4 separate regions of the Homo sapiens genome follow, and regions 1, 2 and 3 are each linked to region 4. Evidence: promoter capture Hi-C in 16 types of primary human blood cells and fetal thymus (Javierre and others, 2016). All regions are on one chromosome and are shown on one strand. Each heading gives the region's core, a stretch centred on a gene start or on the middle of the fragment in contact. The rest is flanking DNA. Distances are from core to core; before and after follow the strand shown. Region 1 overlaps CNDP1 (carnosine dipeptidase 1). Region 2 overlaps ZNF407 (zinc finger protein 407). Region 3 holds the start of LOC124904324 (a long non-coding RNA gene). Region 4 holds the start of CYB5A (cytochrome b5 type A).

What was found. The method cuts DNA at HindIII sites, captures the fragments that hold promoters and counts their contacts. A CHiCAGO score of 5 or more calls a contact.
Region 1: a contact is called between a fragment that was not itself captured here and the fragment with the promoter of CYB5A in region 4, in 1 of 17 cell types (naive CD8 T cells). The highest score is 7.9, in naive CD8 T cells.
Region 2: a contact is called between a fragment that was not itself captured here and the fragment with the promoter of CYB5A in region 4, in 1 of 17 cell types (naive CD8 T cells). The highest score is 5.0, in naive CD8 T cells.
Region 3: a fragment that was not itself captured here is called in contact with the fragment with the promoter of CYB5A in region 4 in 2 of 17 cell types (monocytes and activated CD4 T cells); the score reaches 6.3 in monocytes.

The regions. Positions count from the first base shown.
Region 1 is chr18:74,566,016-74,572,722 of GRCh38, forward strand. It overlaps CNDP1 (carnosine dipeptidase 1), which reads left to right. Exons shown (of 12, transcript NM_032649.6): 6 at 1,218-1,418; 7 at 5,171-5,255. Among named protein-coding and RNA genes, the nearest start is that of ZNF407-AS1, 28 kb to the right of the region's middle. The HindIII fragment of the contact is 173 bases long and covers 1,511-1,683 here.
Region 2 is chr18:74,598,655-74,605,803 of GRCh38, forward strand. The region is part of intron 1 of ZNF407 (zinc finger protein 407); the gene reads left to right. Among named protein-coding and RNA genes, the nearest start is that of ZNF407, 4.4 kb to the left of the region's middle. RefSeq lists an enhancer at 1-211. The HindIII fragment of the contact is 3,707 bases long and covers 1,962-5,668 here.
Region 3 is chr18:74,580,036-74,586,934 of GRCh38, forward strand. It overlaps CNDP1 (carnosine dipeptidase 1), which reads left to right. Exons shown (of 12, transcript NM_032649.6): 10 at 95-236; 11 at 3,526-3,673; 12 at 4,461-6,899. The coding sequence ends at 4,527. LOC124904324 (a long non-coding RNA gene) reads right to left here and starts at 3,642. Exons shown (of 2, transcript XR_007066415.1): 1 at 3,460-3,642; 2 at 329-2,736. The HindIII fragment of the contact is 2,551 bases long and covers 2,625-5,175 here.
Region 4 is chr18:74,290,486-74,297,472 of GRCh38, forward strand. CYB5A (cytochrome b5 type A) reads right to left here and starts at 1,478. Exons shown (of 5, transcript NM_148923.4): 1 at 1,262-1,478. The coding sequence starts at 1,390. RefSeq lists enhancers at 57-664, 1,270-1,439, 1,519-1,688, 1,978-2,037, 2,397-2,566. The HindIII fragment of the contact is 14,442 bases long and covers 1-6,987 here.

The sequences.
Region 1 (6,707 bases), core at 347-2,846, 280 kb after region 4:
GCACCCGCAGGCTCAACACCACATGGAAGCTGCCAGGGCTTGGGGCTTCCACCCTCTGAAGCCACAGCCCGAGCTGTACATTGGCCCCTTTTAGCTACAGCTGGGGAAGCTGGCACACAGGGCACCAAGTCTCTAGGCTGTACACAATACAGGGACCCTGGGCCTGGCCCATGAAACCATTTTCTCCTCCTGGGCCTCCAGGCCTGTGATGGGTGGGGCTGCCGTGAAGGTCTCTGACATGACCTGGAGACATTTTCCCAGTGGTCTTGGGGATTAACATTAGGCTCCTTACTACTTATGCAAATTTCTGCAGCTGGCTTGAATTTCTCCCCAGAAAATGGGTTTTTCTTTTCTATCACATAGTCAGGCTGCAAATTTTCTGAACTCTTAAGGTCTGTTTCCCTTTAAAAACTGAATCCCTTTAACAGTACCCAAGTCACCTCTTGAATGCTTTGTTGCTTTGACATTTCTTTTACCAGATACCCTAAATCATCTCTCTCAAGTTCAAAGTTCCACAAATCTCTGGGGCAGGGGCAAAATGCCATGAGTCTCTTTGCTAAAACAAAACAAGAGTCACCTTTTCTCCAGTTCCAAAAAAGTTCCACATCTCTACCTGAGGCCACCTCAGCCTGGATTTTATTGTCCATATTGCTATCAGCATTTTGGGCAAAGCCATTCAATAAGTCTCTAGGAAGTTCCAAACTTTCCACATTTTTGTGTCTTCTTCTGAGCCCTTCAGACTGTTCCAGTCTCTGCCTGTTACCCAGTTCCAAAGTTGCTTCCAAATTTTTGGGTATCTTTTCAGCAACAACCCACTCTACTGGTACCAATTTACTGTATTAGTCCATTTTCATGCTGTTGATAAAGACATACCCAAGACTGGGAAGAAAAAGAGGTTTAATAGGACTTACAGTTCCACATGGCTGGGGAGGCCTCAGAATCACGACAGGAGGCAAAAGGCACTTCTTAGGTGGTGGCAGCAAGAGAAAATGCGGAAGAAGCAAACCCCTGATAAACCCATCAGATCTCATGAGACTTACTCACTATCACGAGAATAGCACAGGAAAGACTGGCCCCCATGATTCAATTACCTCCCCCTGGGTCCCTCCACAACACGTGGGAATTCTGGGAGATACAATTCAAGTTGAGATTTGGTGGGGACACAGCCAAACCACATCAGGCAACTTGTGCAATTTTTTTCTTCTGTTGTTACTTAGGATCTTCCTGTGAATATCAAATTCATCATTGAGGGGATGGAAGAGGCTGGCTCTGTTGCCCTGGAGGAACTTGTGGAAAAAGAAAAGGACCGATTCTTCTCTGGTGTGGACTACATTGTAATTTCAGATAACCTGTGGATCAGCCAAAGGAAGCCAGCAATCACTTACGGAACCCGGGGGAACAGCTACTTCATGGTGGAGGTATCCACAGAGAGCAGTGCATGGATGGAGGCCTGTGGGGGTTGTGAATGGGAGCACCAATCCATTCTGGGATCTTGGAGAGGAAGAAAGAAAGCTTTCCTGAGGGCAGAGGCCTTACCTGGGACACACGGCCTCAGGGGAGGTGGGGTGGGTGCAGAGGTCTTGGGGTTTGGGGAGGTCATGAACCCCCAACACTTGGAGTGGATGTGGCTATGTACCTTGTTCTGGAGAGGGGATTCACAGGGGTTTGTGACTTACAAAGCAAAGCTTGGAAACTCTGGCCATGGGATTTGCAGGCAGGTATGGCAGCCACAGGGAGGTAAGCAGACTGCGCGATCAATGCAGGGGCAACTGTGCTGTGTCCTGCTCCCAGCGTGGGCCTGCTGGCCACAGTGGCAGGAGACCCCAGTGCCGTGGTCACAGGGAAAGAGAAGGAACATTGGTGTCGCCCGAGGCCAGCATCTGAATCCTAGCTTCTACCATGCCCAGCCTTGTGCAGGTGGTTTCACCTTGAGCCTTGGTTTCCCACCTTGAAAGATGGTACAATAACGCCCCCTCCCAGGATGACTGTGTCATTACATGCAGCCTTTAGTTGAGGTTTGACGCATAATCAGTTTCCTTCCCCTTTTCTCTTTTTCTAGTAATACAGGCAATCTGTGATAGTGCATAAGACATAGAAAGTCCCTCCCGGGTAAATAGCTAATTATTTCATCATTTCAATCTGTTTTCTCATATAACAACGTGTAGGCTGATAATCCATGCTGTATCCAATCCCTAGGCAGTTTTGAGATTCAGATGTCAGCACATACACGGAAACACACATGGCTATGCGTGTGAAAAACAGTGAGTGCCTTCTATTTGTCAGATAGGAGGATGCTAAGTCCCAGGGGTATAGGACTGAATAAAATAGTCTCTGCCCTCAGGAAGTTTACTTCTAGTGAGACACAGATACTAAAGAGATGTGGGAGTGACAGAGAAAATAGGAAGCAGGGACTGTCCTCTAGAACCCGCTTTCAAGAAACATGGCTGTGAAAAGTGGGAGACAGCTGGGATGATGGCTAGAGGAAGCCCTTGGGAGGCAATAGACAGAGGGAGCAGTTGGAGACCTGGGAGGGAGGGGGAGAATTTTTGAGAACGAAGGCACTGAGGAGGTGGGAGGGGGCGAGCTCCAGACCCAGGGGAAGAAAATAACCTCTTCTGTGAGGGCTTTGGGTAGGTAGAGAGCTCCAAGTCCTAGAGCTTTTTCCCTCTTAGCGTCCATTTTTTTCTGTTTAGTAGGAAGTGAGTGTATCTGCAGAGAAGTGATGGCTTGAAGTGGTCACTTTGGGACAGGGGGAAGAGAAGGGATGGGAGGATGAAGAAGGGCCAGGCAGTGGTAAGGTCTGGAGTCATCTGTCCATGCAAATTGCTGGCTTTCTGCAGCATGCTCAGTGGCCAGGGACAGAGAAGGCTGGCCCAGGGGTTGAGGTTACCCCAGAGGGTTGTGGTGGAGAAAGTAGGGAAGAGCTCATCAAGGTGTTGAGCACAGAGGGGCTGAGGTGATCAACGGTGGTATTCAGGTTGAACAGGGGAAAAAACAAAGGCAGGAGGGCAATGTGGGACATCTTGGAAGGGTCAAGGGACTGACGTCTTAATGAAGACCGAGAACAGGTGGTACAGCAACGTTACAAGAGAGGACAAGGGGAGCTGTCATCAGAATGTGAGACAGCCAGCTCAAGCTTTCGAAGTGAGACCGTCCACACTCCAGAGTAATTTAGCTAGCATTATTGCCTAGTGAACGGAAAGTCTTAATGCTAAAGTGACCATACCGAAGATTGCTCTGGTGCCACATTGAAGATGAAGAGGAACAGAGAAAGACCAGCTGGGCAGGAAGGATGGGAGGGAATGAACTGAAGAATCAACTTCAAAAAAGCCCAACCTGTAGAAATTGGTAATTGATTGGATATGGCGTATATAGGAGAAATCATGCTGGTAGGAAGTAATTGCAGAAGAGATTGAGTTTGGGTCTAGATCTCCTGAGTTTTGGAAACTGGAAGCATGCTCAAGTGGAAGGCACCGTAAGCATTCCAGAGTTTTAGGTCTGGTGTTTAAGTAGAAGGTCAGACCTCCAGGGATGAACATTGAAGGGCATGGTTGTATTAATAGCATCTCTGCCCTTAAATTAGCGTGAGCACCGCATGGTCAGAGATAACCAGGTCCACACATGTTTGTGTCATTCCACAATGTCAGGCTTTTACTGATGCTATCTCAATAATAAAAGCCATGGGCTCCATGGAGTTCCCAAGGAGGCAATTCTCCTTAGTGCCTCCCATTCATTCAGAAGTCAGAGCGCAGGCACACAGGCTCAAGCTACTCCACAAGGCAGTCAGTATTGTAAAGCATACATTGTGGTATACCTAGCCAATATGTGAATGTTATAGACTGAACATTCCACAACAAACAAAGTAACATTTACCATCAAGAGAGAAGGAGCTGGGCACAGTGGCTCATGCCTGTAATCCTAGCACTTTGCGAGGCTGAGGCGGGTGGATCACCTGAAGTCAGGAGTTCAAGACCAGCCTGCCCAACATGGTGAAACCCTGTCTTTATGAAGAAAATACAAAAAAAAAAAAAAAAAAAGCTGGGCATGGTGGCGTGCACCTGTAGTCCCAGCTACTTGGGAGGCTGAGGCAGAAGAATTGCTTGAAGCTGGGAGGCGGAGATTGCAGTGAGCTGAGATCATGTCACTGCACTCCTGCCTGGGTGACAGAGCAAGACTCTGTCTCAAAATAATAATAATAATAATTAATAATAATAATAATAAATAATTAAAAAAAAAGAAAAGAAAAGTGATAGGAAAACAGGTTAATGAACCAGTCCAGGGAGAGTGACGTAGACAAAAAGAAATCCTGGCTTGGCCCGGGTGGTCCAGTGGTCTTGTAAGGAAGAGACTTTGATCTGGGCAGAGCCTTTGGTGGCAGATGCTGGGCGCTTAGCACAAGTGACAGCAGGACAGTGTCTGTTAAGTTTTGAGCTGCTGACATCCTGGTCGTTTTATGACTGCCAAGTCCTCTGATAAGAACTGATAGTGGAAGAATGTGTTTGGCTATGTCCTTATCCAGCTGGAAGCAGTCTTTATTGATCAGGCAGAACATCTAGTCCCTGTTGGCAAAGTCCCTTAGGAAAAGTAAGATGGAGTCTTTTTCTAAGATGGAGTCACTTATGTCAAGGGTGCCATATACATAGACACTATCCTGTGAGCTCTTGAAGCTCAGGTAGAGGAAGGATGAGCCAAGTATTAAGCTTTAGAGGTGGAGGAAGAAGAGATGTTATTACAGGAGGTATCAATAGAATTGTCCTGCAGGTAAGAAAAGAAGAAAGAGAAGAAAGCTTCTCAGAAATCAAGGGAAGAGAATTTTTCCAGAAAGAGGAGTGATCAACAATATGGGATGAAACCAAAAGGAAGACAGCTGTGTAAACATCAATCATTTGGCCAAGGAGAGCCTGGTGATCTTGGCTAGAATAGAGTTGGTGGAAGAGCTGAGGAATGAGTCAGTTTCAGGGGATTCAAGAGATGGTGGGAATGAAGCAATCGACAGCAGGTAGGAAATCCAGTCCCCATGACTGAGAAACACAGAAAGTGAAGTCAGGTCTGGATGTTGCCTACCTGAGTTCTGAGGGACACACGCAGATATGTATTTCACCATGTGAAATGCTTACACTAAAGGAACCAAGGCAGGAAGTATATCTCTTACCTTTTATCTACTCTGCAGGTGAAATGCAGAGACCAGGATTTTCACTCAGGAACCTTTGGTGGCATCCTTCATGAACCAATGGCTGATCTGGTTGCTCTTCTCGGTAATGCCTTATTTTGTTTCACTTTTTAAGCATCAGGGATCAACTAAAAGACAGCTCTACTTGATTTTATGTGCCTCTCCTTGCTTTCTGAACCAGCTCTGAACAAGGGTGTAGATGCTTAGATTTTCCTCCCCTTGGCAAACTGTTCCCTCCACTTATAAGTAAGTCTGCATTATTTCTTTTCATGGACTGAAACTCTTCTTCAGTTCATCCATTTTGTTTTATTGGACATTGTGACACATAGCCATACTTAAGGACAAGAGGGCAGAGACTCAAAGGATACAAAAGACTGACAGGCCACCCTGACTCCCTTACTGGTGCTCCTAGAATGCCGGGCCGGGTGGAGGTGTGGTATTCCCAAGCAGCTGAACCACAAGTTCAACTTCAGTAGACCTGGCATGACTTTTTGACTGAAGATAAATCAACAAAGGGATGATCAAAAGGGAAAGGAACTAAGCGACACACCAGGTGAGGCCCTTCACCCACTTTCTCAAGAGCATCTTGTTTTTCACGACAGACTGGCCCTTCCGCAGACCAGCCTGCACCTTGTAGCATGTGGGTTCTGGGTGTGGGTGACCAGGTATGTCCTTGCTCTGCCACAGACCACCTGTACGACCTTGGTAAGTTACTTGAGTTCTCTAGTCTTTGGTTTCTCATTTGTAAAGGGGCACAATCGTCTGTTCACCTAGTATTGCTTTTAGGATGCAAAAAGGTGATGTGTGCAGAACGCTTGTCACGGTGGCTGGAATGCAGCATGTCCATCAGTGAGTAATGGCCTGCCCTGGCCTGACTCCAGAAATGGTGTCAAATATGTCAGCACCACTTGGCTTCATTTTTCAAGGTTGCTGTGGCCCCGAGTGGCACAGCGACGCCGACGAGTTCCCCGATTGTCCTGGTGCTGTCCTTGATTTCCCATGGATTGCTGGTGTGTGCAAGAGGAAGTTGTATGTTTTTCTCGGGGAGCCTGTTTGCTCAGGCTCAATTCACCTACAGCTCTTCTAGGCATCAGAGCTGCCCATAGTGGGTTCCCTGGGAAGCTAAGGAAGTTTAAACTCCAGGGGCCTCACTTACAGGAGCTCCTTCCACAGTCCTGGAAGGGACACTCATCATTTTATATTCATAATTTGGTGTTCTTTTAAAAAAGAGGTTCACACATTACCTATGCTTTAGACCCTGCAACACCTCGCTGTGCTCCACTTGGCATGTATAGCTCCTTTATGCAAATTTCACAACATGGCCAGGCATGGTCACTCACGCCTGCAATCCCAGCACTTTGGGAGGCCAAGGTGGGTGGATCAGTTGAGCTCAGGACTTTGAGACCAGCCTGGGCAACATGGTGAAACCCTGTCTGTACAAAAAATACAAAAGTTAGCCAGGCATGATGGTGTAGGCCTGTAGTCCCAGCTATTTAAGGGGCTGAGGCAGGAGGGTCGCTTGAGCCCGGAAGGCAGA
Region 2 (7,149 bases), core at 2,565-5,064, 310 kb after region 4:
GGTCCTAGCCATTCCCGACTTCAGCTCGCTTTGCGCCACTGCGGGGAGACCCGCGGCTGCCTGACACCGCTGCGGGCAGCAGTGGGTTTCTCAGTAGATGCTCACCTCTTTCCAGCCAGCTAGCACGCCCTGGGTGCTTGGCCTCCTTCTGGAGTTTAAGCTGGTGGAGGCGGGGTGCAGTGGCCGCTGACCTCTGTCGGTTGCGCTGGGTTTTGAGTAGCCATTTATTTCATTGGGGAGTTTTGGAATAGGACATCCCACATCCGTGGACACACATGTAGAATACTTTTATAAGTAATTACAGTCTTAATAGTGATTTGAGTTACAGCTTTGCAGTCTATGCCTGGTGACATCCTAGTCGTAGTATGTATCTGTTTTGTGGTGAAGTGCTGGTCCATTTAGAACACTGTAGACAGGGGCCCTAACATATACTCATCAGAACCTTATTAAGAAGAGCTTATATGTCATTTGGCATACTCACTGTGCTTCATTTAGTACAGCAATCTTGTGTAGTAGGAATTATTCCCTTTTTACAAACTGAGACTCACTTTGCTATATACAAAATTACTGCTACTGGTACAAGGTAAAGCTTTCTTCTTGCGTGACATGTAAGGCAGGTGTGATAATTGCTCACAACACAGTTGCTACTGGTGCATTTTTTTTTAAACTTTATTTCGGAATAAATTAAGATTTACAGAAAAGTTGCAAACAATAGGACAGTTCCATTGGTACCTTTTAAGCAGAGCAAAGTGGCTCCACTTCAAAAACACTGGTTCTTGCTTTATGCCAAACACCCTTCTAGGTGTTGGAAATAGTAATATACTTCCCTAGAGGATTTTGAGATCTGGTTGAATAGACACATAAATAAATATATATAATACCTTTTTCTGCTTACTAAAATAGAGATGTGGGAGCACAGTGGAAGTTACGGCTGATTGATGGTGGGGAGTGGTGAAAGCTTCTTGCAGGATATGTGATTTGAGATAGGTCTCAAGGACTAGTGGGTATTCACCTGGTTGAAGGGACATTTTCCCCAACATTCATTCCGATTAGGTTTGTTTTATTAGAGTAGAACTCGCTAATCTTAATAAAATATACTCTCCTAGTTTGATTCTTCTCTTTCTCATCTCCTTTAAGAAGGTGGTTTGTATCCCAGATAGTGAGAAGAAGCCTAGTTTCTAAATCTATGAATAGGCGAATAAATTAAGCTGTATGTTTCTAATTGATAGTTGTGACTCTTTCGACTGTAGTTGAGATTGGTTTTTTAGGAATGCACTGTGGTCCTCCACTGAGCGTTTTCCTTGCTTTCCAACTCTGATGACTAGTGGAATTAAGTAATGCATTCAGGAAACATTTACCGCATGCTTGCTTTGTGCCAGCCATTGCACTAGAGTAAAATGATGAACAAGATAGTGGGGAATATAGACAAGCAAATGCGCATTGGCAGTGCAGTCTGATGGCCTGCCCACAGAGTGTCACAGTGCCATTCATGATTCTTGGTTGTCAACCATGGCAATGGACTTGGCTGACTTAAGCAGAAAAGGAATTTATTGGAAGGCTATAGATGGCTTTCAGAATTGATGGGAAGGCTGGGGAACTGGATTCAGAAAATAGGCAGCAACCAAAAGAGGCTGGCTGGCTGGGGCCACATCCAAGGCAATATCACGTAAATAGCCTGCCTAGAATTTTGTTGCTGGTGACATTGCCACTGGAGAAACTGCCACCTCTGTTGCTGGACTGTTGACTCTCTTCTACCACTGAAAAATCTCTTATTGCTCCTGCATCTTTGTGACCTTTTTTGCCAAGCCACTGTAGTTGTCAGGGAGCAGAGAGATGGAGAGAGATGGTCTTTATCCCTCGCAAAGACCCACACCTCAAAGGAGTCCTACTAAATAGAAGGAAGCTTGGGCTGTGGGTAGCCCTAAAAGCAAAAATGTCCAGCATAACCACTGAACCTGGCAAGCTTAAAGAGGTTAGGGAGGAATACCAAGAGGGAATGGCGACCAGAGAATGAACAGGAACTCACTGGGCAAAGAGATAAAGAGCGGTTAGGGAATCCAGTTTTGGATAGAAGACTTCCAAGCGTCAAAAGGTAATGTGGAACATTTCAAGAATTAAAAGGTGTTTAGGATGGCTGGATCACGGAGTATAAGAGGAGGTGTGGAAAATAAGGCTGGAGAGGCCCTCTTGAAGAAATGTAGGCAGCATAGTGACATGTACACCCTTTTGCTTGTTTTAAGCACTTTGATTGCAACTACGGAGACCAGTTGGCATGGTGTAAGGCTAGGGGACAGGGATCTTTTAGAGGCTGTTGCATTTATAGTAGGTTAGACATCACAGAAGTCTGAACTAGGATAGTGGCCCAGAGGTAGGGGAAGTGAGTGGATTGTACATGCTCAGTTAGTGGAGTGGATTCGGGGATGGAGTAGGTGAGATGGACAAGTCAAGGTGGACACTGATGTGTCTGCTTCGGGTGACTGGGTGGAGCCTGGTGTTCCCTGTGTGGTGATGGAAGGTGAGCAGTTGCCCCAGTAAGATACTTCAGTGTGGGCTCATTTCTGTGAACACGTTGAGTGGGCAGTTGTATGGATGAGTCTGCAATCCCAGAGGACCACCAGCATCTCACTGCAGCCTTGGTTCCTTCAGTTAGTTGTGTGTGTGTGTGTGTGTATGTCTGTGTGTGTGTGTGTGTGTGTGTGTGTGTGTGTGTCCTTCACAAGATTATGGCAAGACCGGCCTTCATGTGTATGCATCCCAAGTCTCTTGGCATGATGTCTTACTCATAGAAGGGGGTGTTAGGCCATTCTTGCATTGCCTAAAATGGAGAGATAGCCAAGGCTGGGTAATATACAAAGAAAAGAGGTTTCACTGGCTCGCGGTTCTGCAGGCTCTACAGGAAGTGTGGCACTGGCATCTGCTGGGCTTCTGGTGAAGCCTCAGGAAGCTCTCCATCATGGCAGAAGGCAAACGGGGAGCTTGCATATCCCATGGCAAGAGCAGGAGCGAGAGAGTGGGGAGGTGCTATGCACTTTTAAATAGCCAGGTCACATGGGAACTCACTCACCATCTCAGGACAGCACCAAGCCATTCAGGAGGGACACCCCCGCCATAATTCAATCACTGCCCACCAGGCCCTACCTCCAACATTGGGGACTACATTTCAGCCTGAGATTTGGAGGGGATGCACATCCAAACTGTTTCGAGGGGAATCAGTAAATATTGTGGAATTTAATGGAGTATGAGTCATTTGGAGCAGAAAGGAAGTACAAAACATGTCCCTATACAATATATGCATACATATCTGTATACATAGCTACACCTACATATGTATCTTGCTTGCATCACTAGTGAGGGATCCACATCTGTATATATTTTTTGTAGTGGAAAGGCTTTTTGTTCTTATCAGTGTTGTCTTGTGACTAGAACATCTCCTTATGGTAATTATATGGGTAGATCATAATTGTACTAACTCCCTGCTTACTTGATTATCTTGCAATTCCAACTACCTGGAATAAAACCCAGAAATAGCCTTGCAAGAAGTTGATGGCGGTGTAGGAGTGTAAAGGAATTACAGCCTCCCTAAATAAAGTAAAATCTAGAACTTCTAGAATTGAGCACTGAAGGGAGAACCTTTTGCGGGAGAAGGTAGAGAGAGATGATGGTCTCCAACATTGTCTTCTTTAAGTGTCATTTTTCCTTTAGAGGATTATTGCTTTTATTCATACAGTAGTTTCCAGATATAATAATCCTGGTTTAACAGTTTGCTTCTCGAGTATAGCTGAGAAAACTGGACGTTTTCAAAGTATTAAGTACTTAGGGACAGTAAAAGGCAAATAAACATAGAATTCAGTGGTGGTAACAATAATAATGTTTTTGAGCTCTTTATATAAACACTGTGCCAGGTGCCTCTGTACATAATCTCATTTAATTCCCCCAAATCTTTTGAGGTATATACTACATTTTATTGATTTATGGGACACTCAAATTTAGGATAAATAGCTTGTGCAAGGCGACACAGCTATTAAATGGTAGAGCCAGGATTTGAACCAAGATGGTCTGACTTCCGAACCCCTATTTTTAGTCACTAAGTTACATTACCTTCTACAGTATTTTAGCATTGATTCATTCAACATTTTTTTTAGCTCCTCTTATGTCCAGTGTAGTCTGTGAGTTAGTAGAGATCCAGAAGGGTAGGATAAACACATTGCCCTGGTCCTGCTGGGAAACACATCCTGCACTGTGTGTGTGTGAGGGGAGTTGGGGGCAGGGAAAATGCCTCAGGGGGACTCCTACACTGACCCCTGAGCATGCCCAGGTGTGTGGGGACAGGGCATTCAGGAGAGAGCTGAGGCTCCCAGGCAGCCCGGCAGATCATGGGGCAGTGTAGCATTTGGAAGCAGGGGCCAAACTGCGAAGGGTCTTGAAGGCTGAGGTAATACTTGAAGAGTTTATTGTAAGGGCATTGGGGAGCCAGTAATAGGTTCATGCATTTGGTCATGTCTTAGCATTTATTTAAAGAAAGTTTTGAGTCCTGTAGCACTCACTGTGCTGCACAGATGCTATGAGAGTTGATGATAAGGAATCTTGCTTTAATTTGGAAGAAGGTTTAGGGAGACTTCTCAGAGGAAAGGAAGTCCCCCCTGCCCTTCAGTTATTTATTTAGTTGTTTACAATTGAAAAACCAATGCATGCACACAACGAAAAATTGCAAATAGTACAGTGATGCCTCAGACTCTAGGGCTGCTCTCCAGAGACAATCACTATTAACAGTTTCTTGAGTTTGAAAGTGCCCATTCTTTTAATGTGAGCAAAGCAAATGACAACAGTATCTTCTCTCTATGAAGCAGTTCTGACAGTAAAGCCCAACCATGTAAGGCAGGCCACGTAATCAGTACCTGAAAGGCACCTTTCATAAATTCTGTACCGAGGAAGTAGCTTAGGCTTAGGTCTCCTAGAAGCTCAGTCTGTTGGTGAGACACCATTGACGCCTGTGAAACAATAGATTCATTCCACATCTTTCTTTATTCTTAAGCATTTTTGTTTTTTTGGTAGTTGTTGGTTTTTGTTTTAACATTCAAGCACTGGAGAGAATAAGTTCTCCCTGATTTCAGGCACTTTTCCATAGGTAACCACTGTTAAGTAATTTCAGACTGAACAGGATGTCTTGATGAGCTTCCAGTGTTACCTCAACTATGTAATATTTTCTATTATGGATATATTAGCTTATTTAAACATTATCTTATTAGTGGACATTAAGGATTTCTGGCTTGGGTGATTTGATGGGTTGTAAAGCTATTTACTGCCATAAAGAACAAAGGAAAAAGGAGTAAGTTTGTGGGGGAAGTTGATGAGTGCATGTAACATCCAAATGGACTTAGGGGTCTGGTACCTACAGAGCTGTTGGCTAGAGATAAAAATTTAGGCATCATCATTAGTGGATGGGAATGAAAACCATGGAAGTTCACTTGGTCACTAAGGAAGAGGTGGATGAAGAGATAAGAGAGGTCACCTCCTCACAAAGTACAAGGTTTGATTCCATTGTAGCTCCTTTGCTTCTTGGGATTCAGGGAATTCCATGAAGTTCTTTAGATGGGTCCTTGCCTAGTTTTTCTCCTTGTTAGCTTTTGGTTTGCATCCGTGTGGCAAGTTCCCTTCTCCCTATCCCAGAAGCTTCCTCATGTGCATTTTGATCCTTTGCTTGTCTGCTATGTCCACCAGGGGTCTTAGGTTTAACTCACACTTCCCAGACCTCCATAGGCCACACTTGAACAGTCTGTGAAGAAGGGGAAGAACAAGAGCCACAGCTTGCCAGCCCAAAGTGTCAGATCTTCTCTCAGGGGTGGTCCTTGCAATTGTCTACACAGCTGTGCAGACACTGTCTTTCCAGGTGGCTGCTTCAGTGCAGGGACATGAGAGCCACATCATGGATGTAGACACAGCCTTATCTTTGAAATCTCATGCCCCATAGGGAGCAAGTGTTTTTGAACATTCCATAGGCTTAGCTTCTAGGATCCTTGGCAGAGGATAATAAATAAACACAGAATTCAATGGAAGTAACAATAATAATGTTTTTGAGTTCTTTATATAAACACTGTGCCAGATGCCTCTGTACATACATCATGTAATCCCCCCAAATCTTTTGAGGTATATACTACATTTTATTCATTTATGGGACACTCACCATGTGTAAGAGTCCTTGCATCCCAAGGGCACCCGAAGCATGGTGTCCCCATCAGATATTTATAGTTCATGCATAGTTCATCAAAGTCTGGATGCAGTTTACCAGTTGGGCCATTCTTACAGTAAGCAGTTTCGCTTAGTGGCATAGTTGACATTCTTACCCTTATTAGGTTACCAGAGGGAACAGAGCCAGATGGTTTAACTAACAGTCTAATTTTCATGTATCAGGGAAAGGGTTTTGTTAACCTTTTCACTCACCGTTTGCCACACCAAGAAAGAAATGGAGTGCATTCTCTTGATATTTGGGGTCTGCCTTCCCGGGGCCATTTCTAGGGTAAGAGACATTCCGGCGGTGACTTCAGTCTTGAAGAGCACCTCCTTCACCCCCAGCTACTTAGTGAGGTCTCCAGTCCATTTCCTAATCTTATAAGGACTGGGAAGCATGGGCCTTGCATCTGCTGTCTGCAGCTCCTAGCTGTGTGACTTCAGGTAAGTCTCTTCATCTCTCTGAGCCTCAGTAACTTCACTATGAAATGCGTATTATCTTGTAGCTTTTGTGTGAGTGCTAATTGGTGGAATGTGGATAAGTCTTCATCCAGGAGCTGACAAAGCCAGCCCTCACTCTGTTATAGCTGTTATCCAGCAGTGGTCAGAACAGTACTGCCCATGCCATGAATTAAGCACATAGCATAATACGGAGTTTGAAAAAAATAAAAAATTAAAAAATCAAAAAATCATAGGAAGTTTGTTTCCTCATACATAGCAGTTAAGGTTTTCTGTCCAGCACAGCAGTTGTTACCCTGAATCGTCAAGAAAATATGAAATTATATTCTATATACATGTTAAGAAAGTAGGGAATTATATAACTTTTTATAGGATTTCTATGAAAACCACATTTTTTTAAACTTAAAAAATTAACTTTATTATGAACCCAGTAAGATATAATTGTGGGACACACATTGGTATACT
Region 3 (6,899 bases), core at 2,650-5,149, 290 kb after region 4:
ACTGTACTAATCAGTTTCTTGATGGAAGACTATATTAACTGTATGAGAGAATAACTTGACACTTTCTCTTATCATTGAAAATGTCACCTTTTAGGTGACACGACATCTTGAAGATGTGTTCTCCAAAAGAAATAGTTCCAACAAGATGGTTGTTTCCATGACTCTAGGACTACACCCGTGGATTGCAAATATTGATGACACCCAGTATCTCGCAGCAAAAAGAGCGATCAGAACAGGTGGGACCTTAAGATCTTCTGACTGGCCAATCTGCACTGGGACTCAGGGGTGGTACCCGTGGGACCGTGGGTAAAGCAGACACTTTTAAAACTCAGAAATCAACTCTCCTTTTAATACAGAGCACATTGTTGAATGCATGCCATGTGCAGGGCACGCTATACACGCCATCTCAAGTCATCCTCCCAATGGCCTTCCCCATCTAACAGAGGAATAAATGCAGGCTTACAGACATGAAGTATTTTGCCAAAGGGTGCCCAGCTCACAAGGGGCAAAGCCTGTGTTCAAATTTAAGTCTGGAGACCTGAATTTTGAAGAAAATGATGGACTAGAAAATCTTCAACCCCCTCCCCCTGAATACAAACTCATAGAAATGTTGGCCAACATGTAAAAACATCCTTTCAAAACACAGATTAGCCCAGGTGTGATGGCTCAAGCTTATAATCCCAGCAGTTTGGGAGGCAGAGGCAGGAGGATCGCGTGAGCTCAGGAGTTCAAGACCAGCCTGGGCAATATGGTGAGACCCCCATCTCTATAAAAAATATAAAAATTAGCTGGGCGTGGTGGCACATGCCTGTAGTGCCAGCTACTCAGGAGGCTGAGGCAGAAGCATGGCTTGAGCCCAGGAGGTTGAGGCTGCAGCAAGCTATGATCATGCCACTGCCCTCCAGCCTGGGGGACAGAGTGAGACCCTGTCTCAAAAAATGAAAAACAAAAAATACAGCTTAGCTTGTATGACATCAGAGGAAATCCTTCAGGGTTGAAAATGAAGGAGAAGCTAAATTCTAGGGGAGTAAATAAGCAGACCCTGGGCTGGCCGGCAGGGATCTGCTCTTCCTGGTCACAAAGAGACTGGGGCTTTAATGGCCTTGGGCCAGAGTGAGGCAGGAAGTTGAAAATGAGACCCATTATATACAGGCAGGGCATCCCCGGAGAGCCACACCTATCCTGTGTGTGTGTGTGTGTGTGTGTGTGTGTGTGTGTGTGTGTGTGTAAGCTTGACTGCCTTTGCTTGGACGTTGGACGGACACAAGGTCTCCCCTGAGAATTTTTAACCATGGACCCTTGCTCCTGTGGGTTTGGGTGTTTAATTTTACCTAGTGTGTGGTCTGGTTCTCACTAGTGCCATGGCTGGACTGCCTGCTGATGCAAGCACAGCATTGCCCAGGAGGACACAGCCCCCAGGCAGGCCAAGGAGATTCCACAGGAGCTTCCTGGAGATGAGCTCACTGTACACAATTGCAAAACACATGAGAAACCCAGTTCTGGTGTTTCTGACCCTCAAGCCAGTGGTCTCTTCACAATGCCACATTGCTTCCCCAGAAGGCAGCACAGCTCTATTTGGAACTTCTTTGGTGGTGCCTGTTTTAATTCCATGCACTTCAAGGTCCTGGGTAGAGCCATGTGCTGGGCTGAGCAGAGGGCGTGTACTTGGGTGCTGGCTGTGGCGTCAGGGAGCAGGGACACCCAGTCTTTTTGGCTTCTGCACCAGGAGGGGGACCCTGCCAACAATAGCAGAATGGGGGCTCTTCCCAAAGCAGGGGGTTCTAGGTCTCTCCCAAAGCTAGGTGGAAAAGCAGTGGCATGCATTTAGGTAGACCTATGGCATCCTATTACAGATGAGGCCTGAGGCCACATTGGCTAATGGTGGCAAAGCCAGAAAGGGAAGCCCAGATCTCTTTGAAGCACTAACTCTCTCTCAGGGTTATCAGTACAAGGGACACAGACACGGAAAACTACAGATCAAGTCCAAGACAGGGAGCCATGCTTCTTTCCATCACCATTCCTGCTGCCCCCAACCTTAGCAGGTATTTCGCCAGTAAACTTTAGGATTGAAGAAATGTAATGGCAGCTGAAGAGAGGTGTGTGTTTGAAATACCCAGGTTGACAACAATAAATAGGTCTGAAATAGCCTTTCAGGAATGCATAAGACACCTTTCGGTCTATTTGTGTGCTAAACTGGTTCTGCGAACGAGGCACATCACTTCGATTCACGTCCACATCTTTCTTTGTGAATAAAGAAGAGGTGGCATGTTCTCTCTGGTTTCTTTGTTTCATTTTTCATCCCACTCCATCACTGGCAGCATGTCCGGTAAGCTAGAAGGTTTGAACTCATCTCTTTCTAAAACCTACGATAGCAGTTAAAACTATTTTGTGCAATACTTTGAAAATTGCTAGAAACACTGTGACATTTGAGCGATAGTACAGCTATTGGCATATCTGTCACCAAAAAACCCAAAGAAGTCCCACTTCCATAATATTTAATTCATGAAGAAACAATATAGGGACATTGTCTTGTGTCGTGCCAAAAATGCATGACCTCTTGCAATCACAAGATAACATCAGACAAACCCAGAGTGAGGGATATTTTACAAAACTACCGACTGATAAGCTTCAAGATGGTCAAGGTCATGAAAGACAAGGAAATACTGAGAAACGTCTGCAGCATACAAGAAACTAAGAAGCAATAATAAAAATGCAGTGTGGATTCTGGATCAGATCCTGGAAGGGAAAAAGGGAAAGACCGGTGAAATTGAAAGTCTGGAGTGTAGTTAACAACATTGCACCGTTGTCAGTTTCCTTGTTTTGATCATTTTGCAATAGTTACATAAGACGTTCATATCAGGGAAAGCAGAGTAAGAGATAGATGGGAGCTCTCTCTCTACTATTTTTGCAACTTTTCTAAATTCTACACTTTTCTAAAATTAGTTCAAAATAAAATTTTTATTTACAATTGTATTTATTTATTTATTTAGAGACAGAGTCTCGCTCTGTCACCCGGGCCTGAGTGCAGTTGCAAGATCTCGGCTCACCGCAACCTCCATCACCCACGTTCAAGCGATTCTCCTGCCTCAGCCTCCTGAGTAGCTGGGATTACAGGCATATACCACCATGCCCAGCTAATTTTTGTATTTTTAGTAGAGACGGGGTTTCACCATGTTGGCCAGGCTGGTCTCAAACTCCTGACCTCAAGTGATCCGCACACCTCAGCCTCCCAAAGTGCTGGGATTACAGGCATGAGCCACTGCACCTGGCTCTAAAATCTTTTTTAAAGTAGGTAATTGTGAAGAAGACATCCATAGTTTTCTTCTTGACTCTAGTGTCTATCTTAGAATATAATTGCATGATATCAAGGGGCTTCCTTACCCCAAAGCACCAAATCTAATGGTAAAAAAAGAAAGATTAACAAGGAAAAAGAGAGAGGAAGGTAAAGGAGGCACTGACCTTGAGGAGCTTCCTGGGGGTGTTCTTGTCCTTACCCTATTCAAATGCCTTCTTTTCCTGTCTCAGTGTTTGGAACAGAACCAGATATGATCCGGGATGGATCCACCATTCCAATTGCCAAAATGTTCCAGGAGATCGTCCACAAGAGCGTGGTGCTAATTCCGCTGGGAGCTGTTGATGATGGAGAACATTCGCAGAATGAGAAAATCAACAGGTCAGCTGATGCCTGTGCAATGTGCCTCTCTCTTCTTCCTTTACTGCACACACCCGGGTCTACACGTGGGTGAGCTCCTGTTCAATTTATGTGAGAATGGAAAATCGTCCAGACTGGGAGCTTAAAGAACAGACATTCATTCCTCACAGTTCTGGAGCCTGGATGCCCTAGATCAGGTGCCAGGCCATTTGGTTCCTGGTGGGTATGGGCTGTCTTCCTGGCCGTCCCTGCGATGGTGGGGTTAGGTGGTTCTGGTGTCTCTCTTTTTATAAGAGCACCAGACCCATTGGATTAGGACCCCCATTTTAACCTCATTTAACCTTTATTATCTCCTCCAGGCCCTGTCTCCAAATACAGACACACTGGGGGGTTAGGGGTTCAACACAGGACTTTGAGGAAACACAAATATTTAGTGCATAACAAAAAAGGCTATTAGGAATGTTTGCTTTATGCGCTACTGGCAGATACTACAAGATCTCCTAAGCATCCCAGACTACTGAGAAACAAGAAATTGTTTGACCCTGATATCCATATCAGTGATAAGAAATCAAGGAAAATTCACTTTTGGATTTGAGTCTAGGACTGATTCTCATCTTCTTAATAATAATAATGCAATTTTCACATGGAACTTACTAAGTGCTTTTCATACTGGGATCTCAGAAGTATGTTAAATAATTTAAATGGAATTTATAACATCAAATCTTCCTGTCTAAATGACAGAATATTTTTCCTCCTTCATTTGAATGGAAATTGTAACAAAATTTCTCTTTGTTTTTCCTCTTCTTAGGTGGAACTACATAGAGGGAACCAAATTATTTGCTGCCTTTTTCTTAGAGATGGCCCAGCTCCATTAATCACAAGAACCTTCTAGTCTGATCTGATCCACTGACAGATTCACCTCCCCCACATCCCTAGACAGGGATGGAATGTAAATATCCAGAGAATTTGGGTCTAGTATAGTACATTTTCCCTTCCATTTAAAATGTCTTGGGATATCTGGATCAGTAATAAAATATTTCAAAGGCACAGATGTTGGAAATGGTTTAAGGTCCCCCACTGCACACCTTCCTCAAGTCATAGCTGCTTGCAGCAACTTGATTTCCCCAAGTCCTGTGCAATAGCCCCAGGATTGGATTCCTTCAAACCTTTTAGCATATCTCCAACCTTGCAATTTGATTGGCATAATCACTCCAGTTTGCTTTCTAGGTCCTCAAGTGCTCGTGACACATAATCATTCCATCCAATGATCGCCTTTGCTTTACCACTCTTTCCTTTTATCTTATTAATAAAAATGTTGGTCTCCACCACTGACTACAATGATTTCCCCATGGATTCATTTTCAGAGGAGTTACTAAGGCATGGTACTATATTAACCTCTTGCCTCCCCTTCATTTATTTTTTCCCACTTCTTGAAAAGTTCCGAAGCTGAAATGATCAATATTCATACCCATATGCCATTTGGGAGTCCTTGTGCAAAGATGAGTATTTTTTTTTTTATTCCAAGCTTCTTTACCTTTCCTGAGATCGATGCCACCTTGTCAGCTTCTCTGCCTCCCGTTCCTTCTTCCTGTCCCATCAGAAAAGGCCCACTCTCTCTCTATCCAACATCTGTGCACAGGTTGCACCAGAGCAGAATTTATCCTGATAGAATTTCTCTCACCCCATTGAAGTTTTACTCAATGACAACATCTAAATTGCTCAAAGCTTTTAATAGCATCAGTTTTAGATAGAGAACTAATCAACCCTGACATCAGTAACACACGCTAAATTTAAAGCCATCAGCTAATGCTGCATTCATTAATCATTTTAGTTAACCATCATGTTTGGCTTGATTGGATTTGACGGTGTAAACAACAAAAAAAGACAGTCATTTTTCTACAGTTGAGTGTATATAAACAAAATCAATCTTTATGAATTTATTATTTAAATCACATTAATGGAGAATCATTTAGGGGCTTATTAAAATTTTTTTCTATTATGACTCCAAATAAAAACAAAGCAGAGGGCCAGGCGCGGTGGCTCATGCCCATAATCCCAGCACTTTCGGAGGCCGAGGTGGGCGGATCACCTGAGGTCGGGAGTTCGAGATCAGCCTGGCTAACATGGTGAAACCCTGTCTCTACTGAATATACAAAATTAACTGGGCATGGTGGTGCATGCCTGTAGTCCCAGCTACTCGGGAGGCTGAGGCAGGAGAATCGCTTGAACCCAGGAGGCGGAAGTTGCAGTGAACTGGGATCATGCCACTGCACTCCAGCCTGGGCGACAGAGTGAGACTCCGTCTCCAAAAAAAAAAAAAAAAAAAAAAAAAGCAGAACACATTTGCGTTCAACTTTTTTCCATCACTCTGTTGGTTCTTGAGATGTCAGTGTCAGTTTAAAAACGTGCTGTACCACCTTTAAAAGGACTGGAGCAGGCAGGCAGTGATTCAGTTCACCTTGACTCTAGTCATAGAAGTGGACCCAACTGAGAGCTCAACCTAGTTGTGGGCATTTGTGAAGGATTCCAGTTAGTGTTTTCTTTGGAAGCAGGAGGCTTCAAGCCATCACATCTCCAATTCTATAGAATATCAAGTCATCGTTAAAGAACAGCAGCAGGTGTTTGATATTTTGTGCTATTAAGTGTAGTTTGCGCTCATCTAATTATGCAGAGTTTCGTGGTGTTTCTCGATTTTGTTGAACCTACCTGATGCATTTGGCACTGTAGATAAGGACTAACAGTAAGAGAGATTTAGAGTCTTCATGTTAGTCCATTAACATAAGTTTATTATAAAATACACTGTAAGCATTTCTGGCTAATGTACCATCAGATTTAAGAAGTTACCCAACAATATGTATTCGCTGATCTTCATTCCTGCTGAATCTGAGACCAGCAGTGTCTCAATTATTACGTTGCTGCCAGGAGAGAAGGGGAGGAGAATGAATAGTTATGGAAGTTGTAGAATCTAGGATATTCCAACCCTGGATTGCCAGAGTTCAGAGTCCATGTTTTTCTGTCACCCAGGGTCACGACTGGTCTCCCCAGCTCTTCCCTCCTGTTTTTCCACCCAATTCTAAGCCCTGTGGTGATCCAGACCCTACCCTGACGTGGGAGTCAGAAAGGAGTATCTTCCAAGCTCCTTGTACTCAAAGGGATAAAAGAAAGCTACTCAGTTGTTATTCAGATATATTAACCAGCCATATGGAGGCAAAAAAGGGAGAAATTTAAATATTTGTTTTTTAACATT
Region 4 (6,987 bases), core at 228-2,727:
CCACCCGCCTCAGCCTCCCAAAGTGCTGGGATTACATGTGTGAGCCACCGTGCTTGGCCCAGCCTCATTTTTTAAAACAGGCCTTTTGATTTTAACATTTTCTGCAAAAACAAAGTCCTCTGATATAAACTGTGATCCAGCTCAGACCAGGCATCTATTTTTGTCCCCTGCTCCCCGACTATGTAAAAAATTCCCATCACTAAACCTTCTCATTATTGGGAGGGGGCGTGAGCATGCGTTAAGATTTATGATTGAGACTCCCCCAAAAGTAGTAAAACACTTCCAGAGGATCTAAGACAATCACCAAAAGCGCCCCTTAGCGTGTGCGGCAAAAATTATAACCGAATGCAAAGAATCTTATCAAAGGAATGTCTTCAAGTTAACCAACGTTTCCTATTACACCTTCCAAAGCTGTTAGGGGCGAGTCCCACGCAGAACGTCCGCTGCTCTGCCTGGCCTCTGTGTTCTTGCTCCAGCCACACACCGCGGTCTCAGGAGTCAAGCACGGCACCTGGCTGCCAAGGCGTGACTGGAAAAGGTTAATTAACACCGAGCCTCTTCCAGGTGAACGCGAACGCGAGTGGGTGTGGACCGCAAGGTCGGCCAGTGGCTGCCGCGGGAAGCGCAGGCCCGGACCACACCCGACCTCCGCACTTGGGGTCCCCTCCGGCGGGATCCGCAGCTCTCGGGGTGGGTGGTCTCCAGCCGGCCACTGCGGGAATGCCGCCGGTCCTGGAAGGACACCCTTCTATTCAAACTCAAGGGAGAAAGGGATCATTTAAATCCCCCGCATGGCTGCGCGCTATCCCCGGAAGGCTGCTCCAGCACCACCTAGCGAGGATGCCGCCGCGCAGGGCGCTCCCAGGTGTGCACGCGCAGGTGTACGGATTCGGGGAGCGCTCCCAGGTGTACACGCGCAGGTGTGCGGACTCAGGGAGCGCTCCCCAGGTGTGCACGCGCAGGTGTGCGGACTCGAGGAGAGCGCCCAGGTGTACACTAGCAGGTGTGCGGACTCGGGGAGCGCTCCCAGGTGTGAGCGCGCAGGTGTGCGGACTTGGGGCGGTGGGGGGCGCCCAGGCTTGCACGCGCAGGTGTGCGGACTCGGAAGCGCGCCCAGGCGTACACGCGCAGGTGAGCGAACTCGGGGGGCGCGCCTAGGCGTAGGTATGCGGACTCCGGGCCGCGAAAGACAGGTCATGCCAGTGAACCCCCAAACCCGGCCCACGCTCCCTGCGCCCCAAGCCGCTCATCCCCAACTCACCTCTTCCAGAAATTTGGTCAAATCGTACACCTTGTGGTGCAGGATCAGCCAGGTGCTCTTGCTGTGGTTGTGCTTCTGAATCTCCTCTAGGGTGTAGTACTTCACGGCCTCGTCCGACTGCTCTGCCATCTCGGTTCGCCGCGAGCCAGGCCCAGCACACACAGCCCCGTCGGGTGGAGCAGAGCGCGCGACTCAGCCAGCTCCACCCGGGACATTCCCCGCGCCGGGAACCCCACTGGGGGCTGGGCGGCCGGCTCAGGGGCGGGGCGCAGTAGAAGGGCCTCCGACGGTTGGCCATCATCCTTGTCACTCAAAAGTCCCCGCCTTCGGTCGACCCCCTCCGCCTGCCCAAGCGTGGTCCCGCCCAGTATGCGGGTGTTAATTGGCTGCCGGAGGTGCCCTTCACAATCTCCCGGCTGCCGCAGCGCGCGGAGAGCGTGACAGGACTCCACGGAGTCTGCGCGGAAGGGCGGGACTAACTGTGGCGAGGGCTGAGGTGGGAGGTCGGGGGCGTCCCCGCGGGTTAAGCGTGCGAGAGAGCGAGGTGCACCAGCGGGCATGGATGGCCTGTGCAGAGTCCAGTCTTGTGAGGGCGGCGAACTAGGCAGCGAATCGCGGGAGTTTCCTATTGGCAGCAGTCCGAGTCCCAGACGTTAATTTGTAACAAAAGTAGCGATGGCCAAGCCCATAAAGGGGGCATCTCGGAAAGCCGTTCGCATGCACGGAAGAGATGAAAGCCCCGTGCGCGCTAGAAAACGGTTTCGCAACTCACTTCGGGAAGCAAATGCGCTGCCCCCCAAAACATAAAGTTGGCGAACTGTGCCTGACCCCGCTGGGGTTTTGGAATGCCTCGTCCTCACAGGAAAAAAATCCAGGGAAATCATCTTTTCCTTAAAAAGCAAAAGTGTCCAAATTATTTCTGTGACTGAAGTAGTTTGTCTGCGGTTGGCCAGTGACATGGCAAGGCCTTGTTTGTGCATTTAAGGTAAATCAGATTCTCTTCTAGGAGTCTGGAAGAGAACTTCCCCAAAGGGCACCCTCTTTCCCTTCTGACACAGAGGAAATACCACATATAAAGAGCTACAAATGTTTGAAGGAGAAAAAAAATAAAGAAAAATTCCAGCATGTTAAAATTTGATATTTTATGTAGGCCCTTTTCAGCAATGGTAGTTAATTCCAAAAAGAACCACACGAGAGGTTTCACATGTGGGGTCATCCATCCTTCCAGGGATGCAGAAGGTTCCTACACATACTAGGTGTCTGATGAATGTGAGCTCCCTTCCCCCTGCTTACCTCCTCCATAGGAATGCATGCCTATCCAGAAAAACACAAAACACACGCATGTCAGGCCTCTGAGCCCAAGCCTGCACATATACATCCAGATGGCCTGAAGCAACTGAAGAATCACAAAAGAAGTGAAAATGCTGAAGCAACTGAAGAATCACAAAAGAAGTGAAAATGGCCGGTTCCTGCCTTAACTGATAAGACAGTCACCTGTCCTCCTGCTCTTTGCTCTGTGAGAAAGATCCACCTACAACCTCGGGTCCTCAGACCAACCAGCTCCAGGAACATCTCACCAATTTTAAATTGGGTAAGCAGCTTCTTTTTACTCTCTTCTCCAACCTCTCTCACTATCTCTCAACCTCTTTCTCCTTTCAATTTTGGCACCACCCTTCAATCTATCCCTTCCCTTAATTTCAGTTCCTTTCCTTTTCTGATAGAGACAGAGGAGATGTGTTTTATCCGTGAACCCAAAACTCCGGCACTGGTCACGGACTCGAGAAGACAGTCTTCCCTTGGTGTTTAATCACTGCAGGGATGCCTGCCTGATTATTCACCCACATTTCAGAGGTGTCTGATCACCACAGGGACACCTGCCTTGATCCTTCACCTTGGTGTCAAGTACCGACCCCCCCTGTGTCTCTGCCCTCTCTTTTCTCTGGGCTTGCCTCCTTCACTATGGGCAACCTTCCACCCTCCATTCCTCCTTCTTCTCCCTTAGCCTGTGTTCTCAAGAACTTAAAACCTCTTCAACTCTCGCCTGACCTAAAACCTAAACACCTTATTTTCTTCTGCAATACCACCTGACCCCAATACAAACTTGACAGTGGTTCCAAATAGCCAGAAAATGGCACTTTCAATTTCTCCACCCTACAAGATCTAGATAATTCTTGTCGTAAAATGGGCAAATGGTCTGAGGTTCCTGACATCCAGGCATTCTTCTACACATCAGTCCCGCCCTAGTCTCTGCTCCCAATGCGACTCATCCCAAATCTTTCTTCTTTCTCTCCTGTGTGTTCCTTCGGTCTCCACCCCAAGCTCTGAGTACTTTGAATCCTCCTTTTCTGTGGAGCCATCTGACCTCTCCCCTGCTCGCCGGGCTGAGCCAGGTCCCAATTCTTCCGCAGCCTCTGTTCCCCCACTCTATAATCCTTCTATCACTTCCCCTCCTCACACCTAGTCCGGCTTATGGTTTTGTTCCTTGACTAGCCCTACCCCACCTGCCCAACAATTTCCTCTTAAAGAGGTGGCTGGAGCTAAAGGCATAGTCAAGGTTGTTGCTCCTGTTTTCTTTATCCGACCTCTCCCAAAACAGTTAGGCTCTTTTTCATCAAATATAAAACCCCAGCCCAGTTCATGGCCCGTTTGGCAACAACCCTTAAACGCCTTACCGCCCTAGACCCAGAGAGGCCAGAAGGCCGTCTTATTCTCAGTATGCATTTTATTACCCAACCCACTCCTGACGTTAGAAAAAGCTCCAAAAATTGGATTCCAGCCCTCAAACCCCACAACAGGACTTAACCTTGCCTTCAAGGTGTACAATAATAGAGAAGAGTGGCAATTACTTGCCTCTGCTGTGAGAGAAACTTCAGCCACATCTCCAGCATACAAGAATTTCAAAACGCCTAAACCGCAGTGGCCAGGCGTTCTTCCAAGACCTCCTACCCCAGGATCTTGCTTCAAGTACTGAAAATGTGGCCACTGGGCCAAGGAATGTCTGCAGCCCGGATTCCTCCTAAGCAATGTCCCATCTGTGCAGGACCCCACTGGAAATTGGACTGTCCAACTCACCTGGCAGCCATTCCTAGAGTTCCTGGAACTCTGGCGCAAGGCTCACTGACTGACTCCTTCCCAGATCTTCTCGGCTTAGTGGCTGAAGACTGACACTGCCCGATCGCCTTGGAAGCCTCCTGGACCATGATAGATGCTTTAGGTAACTCTTACAGTGGAGGATGAGTCCATCCCCTTCTTAATACGGAGGCTATCCACTGCACATTACCTTCTTTTCAAGGGCCTCTTTCCCTTGCCTCCATAACAGTTGTGGGTATTGACGGCCAGGCTTCTAAACCTCTTAAAACTCCCCAATTCTGGTGCCAACTGGGACAGTATTCTTTTATGCGCTCCTTTTTAGTTATTCCCGCCTGCCCAGTTCCCTTATTAGGTCGAGGCATTTTAACTAAATTATCTGCTTCCCTGACTATTCCTAGGCTACAGCCACACCTCATTGTCACCCTTTTTCCCAGTTCAAAGCCTCCTTCACATATTTTCCTTGTATCTCCTCACCTTAATCCACAAGTATGAGACATCTCTACTCCCTCCTTGGCAACTGATCATGCACCCCTTACCATCCCATTAAAACCTAATCACCCTTACCCTGCTCAACACCAATATCCCATCCCACAGCACGCTTTAAAAGAATTAAAGCCTGTTATCACTCACTTGTTACAGCATGGCCTTATAAAGCCTATAAACTCTCCTTACAATTCCCCCATTTTACCCCTCCATAACCCATTCTGTTCTGGATCTCAAACATGCTTTCTTTACTATTCCTTTGCACCTTTCATCCCAGCCTCTCTTCGCTTTCACTTAGACTGACCCTGACACCCATCAGCCTCAGCAACTTACCTGGGCTGTACTGGCGCAAGGCTTCAGGGACAGCCCCCATTACTTCAGTCAAGCCCAAATTTCTTCCTCATCCGTTACCTATCTCGGCATAATTCTTCATAAAAATACATGTGCTCTCCCTGCTAATCATGTCCAGCTAATCTCCCAAACCCCAACCCCTTCTACAAAACAACTCCTTTCCTTCCTAGGCATGGTTAGGTACTTTTGCCTTTAGATACCTGGTTTTGCCATCCTAACGAAACCATTCATTCTCCCCATTTCCCCATATTACCTCTTTCCTGTTCCCCACCCAGACCACGCTTGGTTTATTGATGATAGTTCTTCCAGGCCCAATCGCCAATCACTGGCAAAGGCAGGCTATGCTATAGTGTCTTCCACATCTATCACTGAGGCTACCACTCTGCCCCCCTCCACTACCTCTCAGCAAGCCAAACTCATTGTCTTAACCTGGGCCCTCACTCTTGCAAAGGGACTGCATGTCAATATTTATACTGACTCTAAATATGCCTTCCATATCCCGTACCACCATGCTGTTATATGGGCTGAAAGAGGTTTCCTCACTACACAAGGGTCCTCCATCATTAATGCCTCTTTAATAAAAACTCTTCTCAAGGCCACTTTACTTCCAAAGGAAGCTGGAGTCATTCACTGCAAGGGCCATCAAAAGGCATCAGATCGCGTCGCTCAGGGCAATGCTTATGCTGATAAGGTAGCTAAAGAAGCAGCTAGCATTCCTACTTCTGTCCCTCACGGCCAGTTTTTCTCCTTCTCATCAGTCACTCCTACTTACTCTCCCACTGAAGTTTCTACCTATCAATCCCTCCCCACTCAAGGTAAATGGTTCTTAGACCAAGGAAAATATCTCCTTCCAGCCTCACAGGCCCATTCTATTCTGTCGTCACTTCATAACCTCTTCCATGTATGTTATAAGCTGCTAACCCGCCTCTTAGAACCTCTCATTTCCTTTCCATCGTGGAAATCTATTCTCAAGGAAATCGCTTCTCTGTGTTCTATCTGCTATTCTACTCCTCAGGGATTGTTGAGGCCCCCTCCCTTCCCTACACATCAAGCTCGGAGATTTGCCCCTGCCCAGGACTGGCAAATTGACTTTACTCGTATGCCCCGAGTCAGGAAACTAACATACCTCTTGGTCTGGGAAGACACTTTCACCAGATAGGTAGAGGCCTTTCCCACAGGGTCTGAGAAGGCCACCGTGGTCATTTCTTCCCTTCTGTCAGACATAATTCCTTGGTTTGGACTTCCCACTTCTGTGCAGTCCAATAGCGGACGGGCCTTTATTAGTCAAATCACCCAAGCAGTTTCTCAGGCTCTTGGTATTCAGTGGAAACTTCATACCCCTTATCGTCCTCAATCTTCAGGAAAGGTAGAACGGACTAATGGTCTTTTAAAGACACACCTCACTAAGCTCAGCCTCCAATTTAAAAAGGACCGGATAGTACTTTTACCACTTTCCCTTCTCAGAATTAGAGCCTGTCCTCGAGATGCTACAGAGTACAGCCCATTTGAACTTTTATATGGATGCCCTTTCTTGCTCGGCCCCAACCTCGTCCCAGACACCAGCCCTCTAGGTGACTATCTTCCAGTCCTCCAGCAGGCTAGACAGGAAATTTGCCAGGCTGCTAATCTTCTCTTGCCTATTCCAGATTCCCAGCCTTATGAAGACACCCTATCTGGACGATCAGTTCTTGTTAAGAATCTGACCCCTCAAACTCTACAACCTCGACGGACCGGACCCTACTTAGTCATCTATAATACCCTAACTGCCGTCCTCCTGCAGGACCCTCCCCATTGGGTTCACC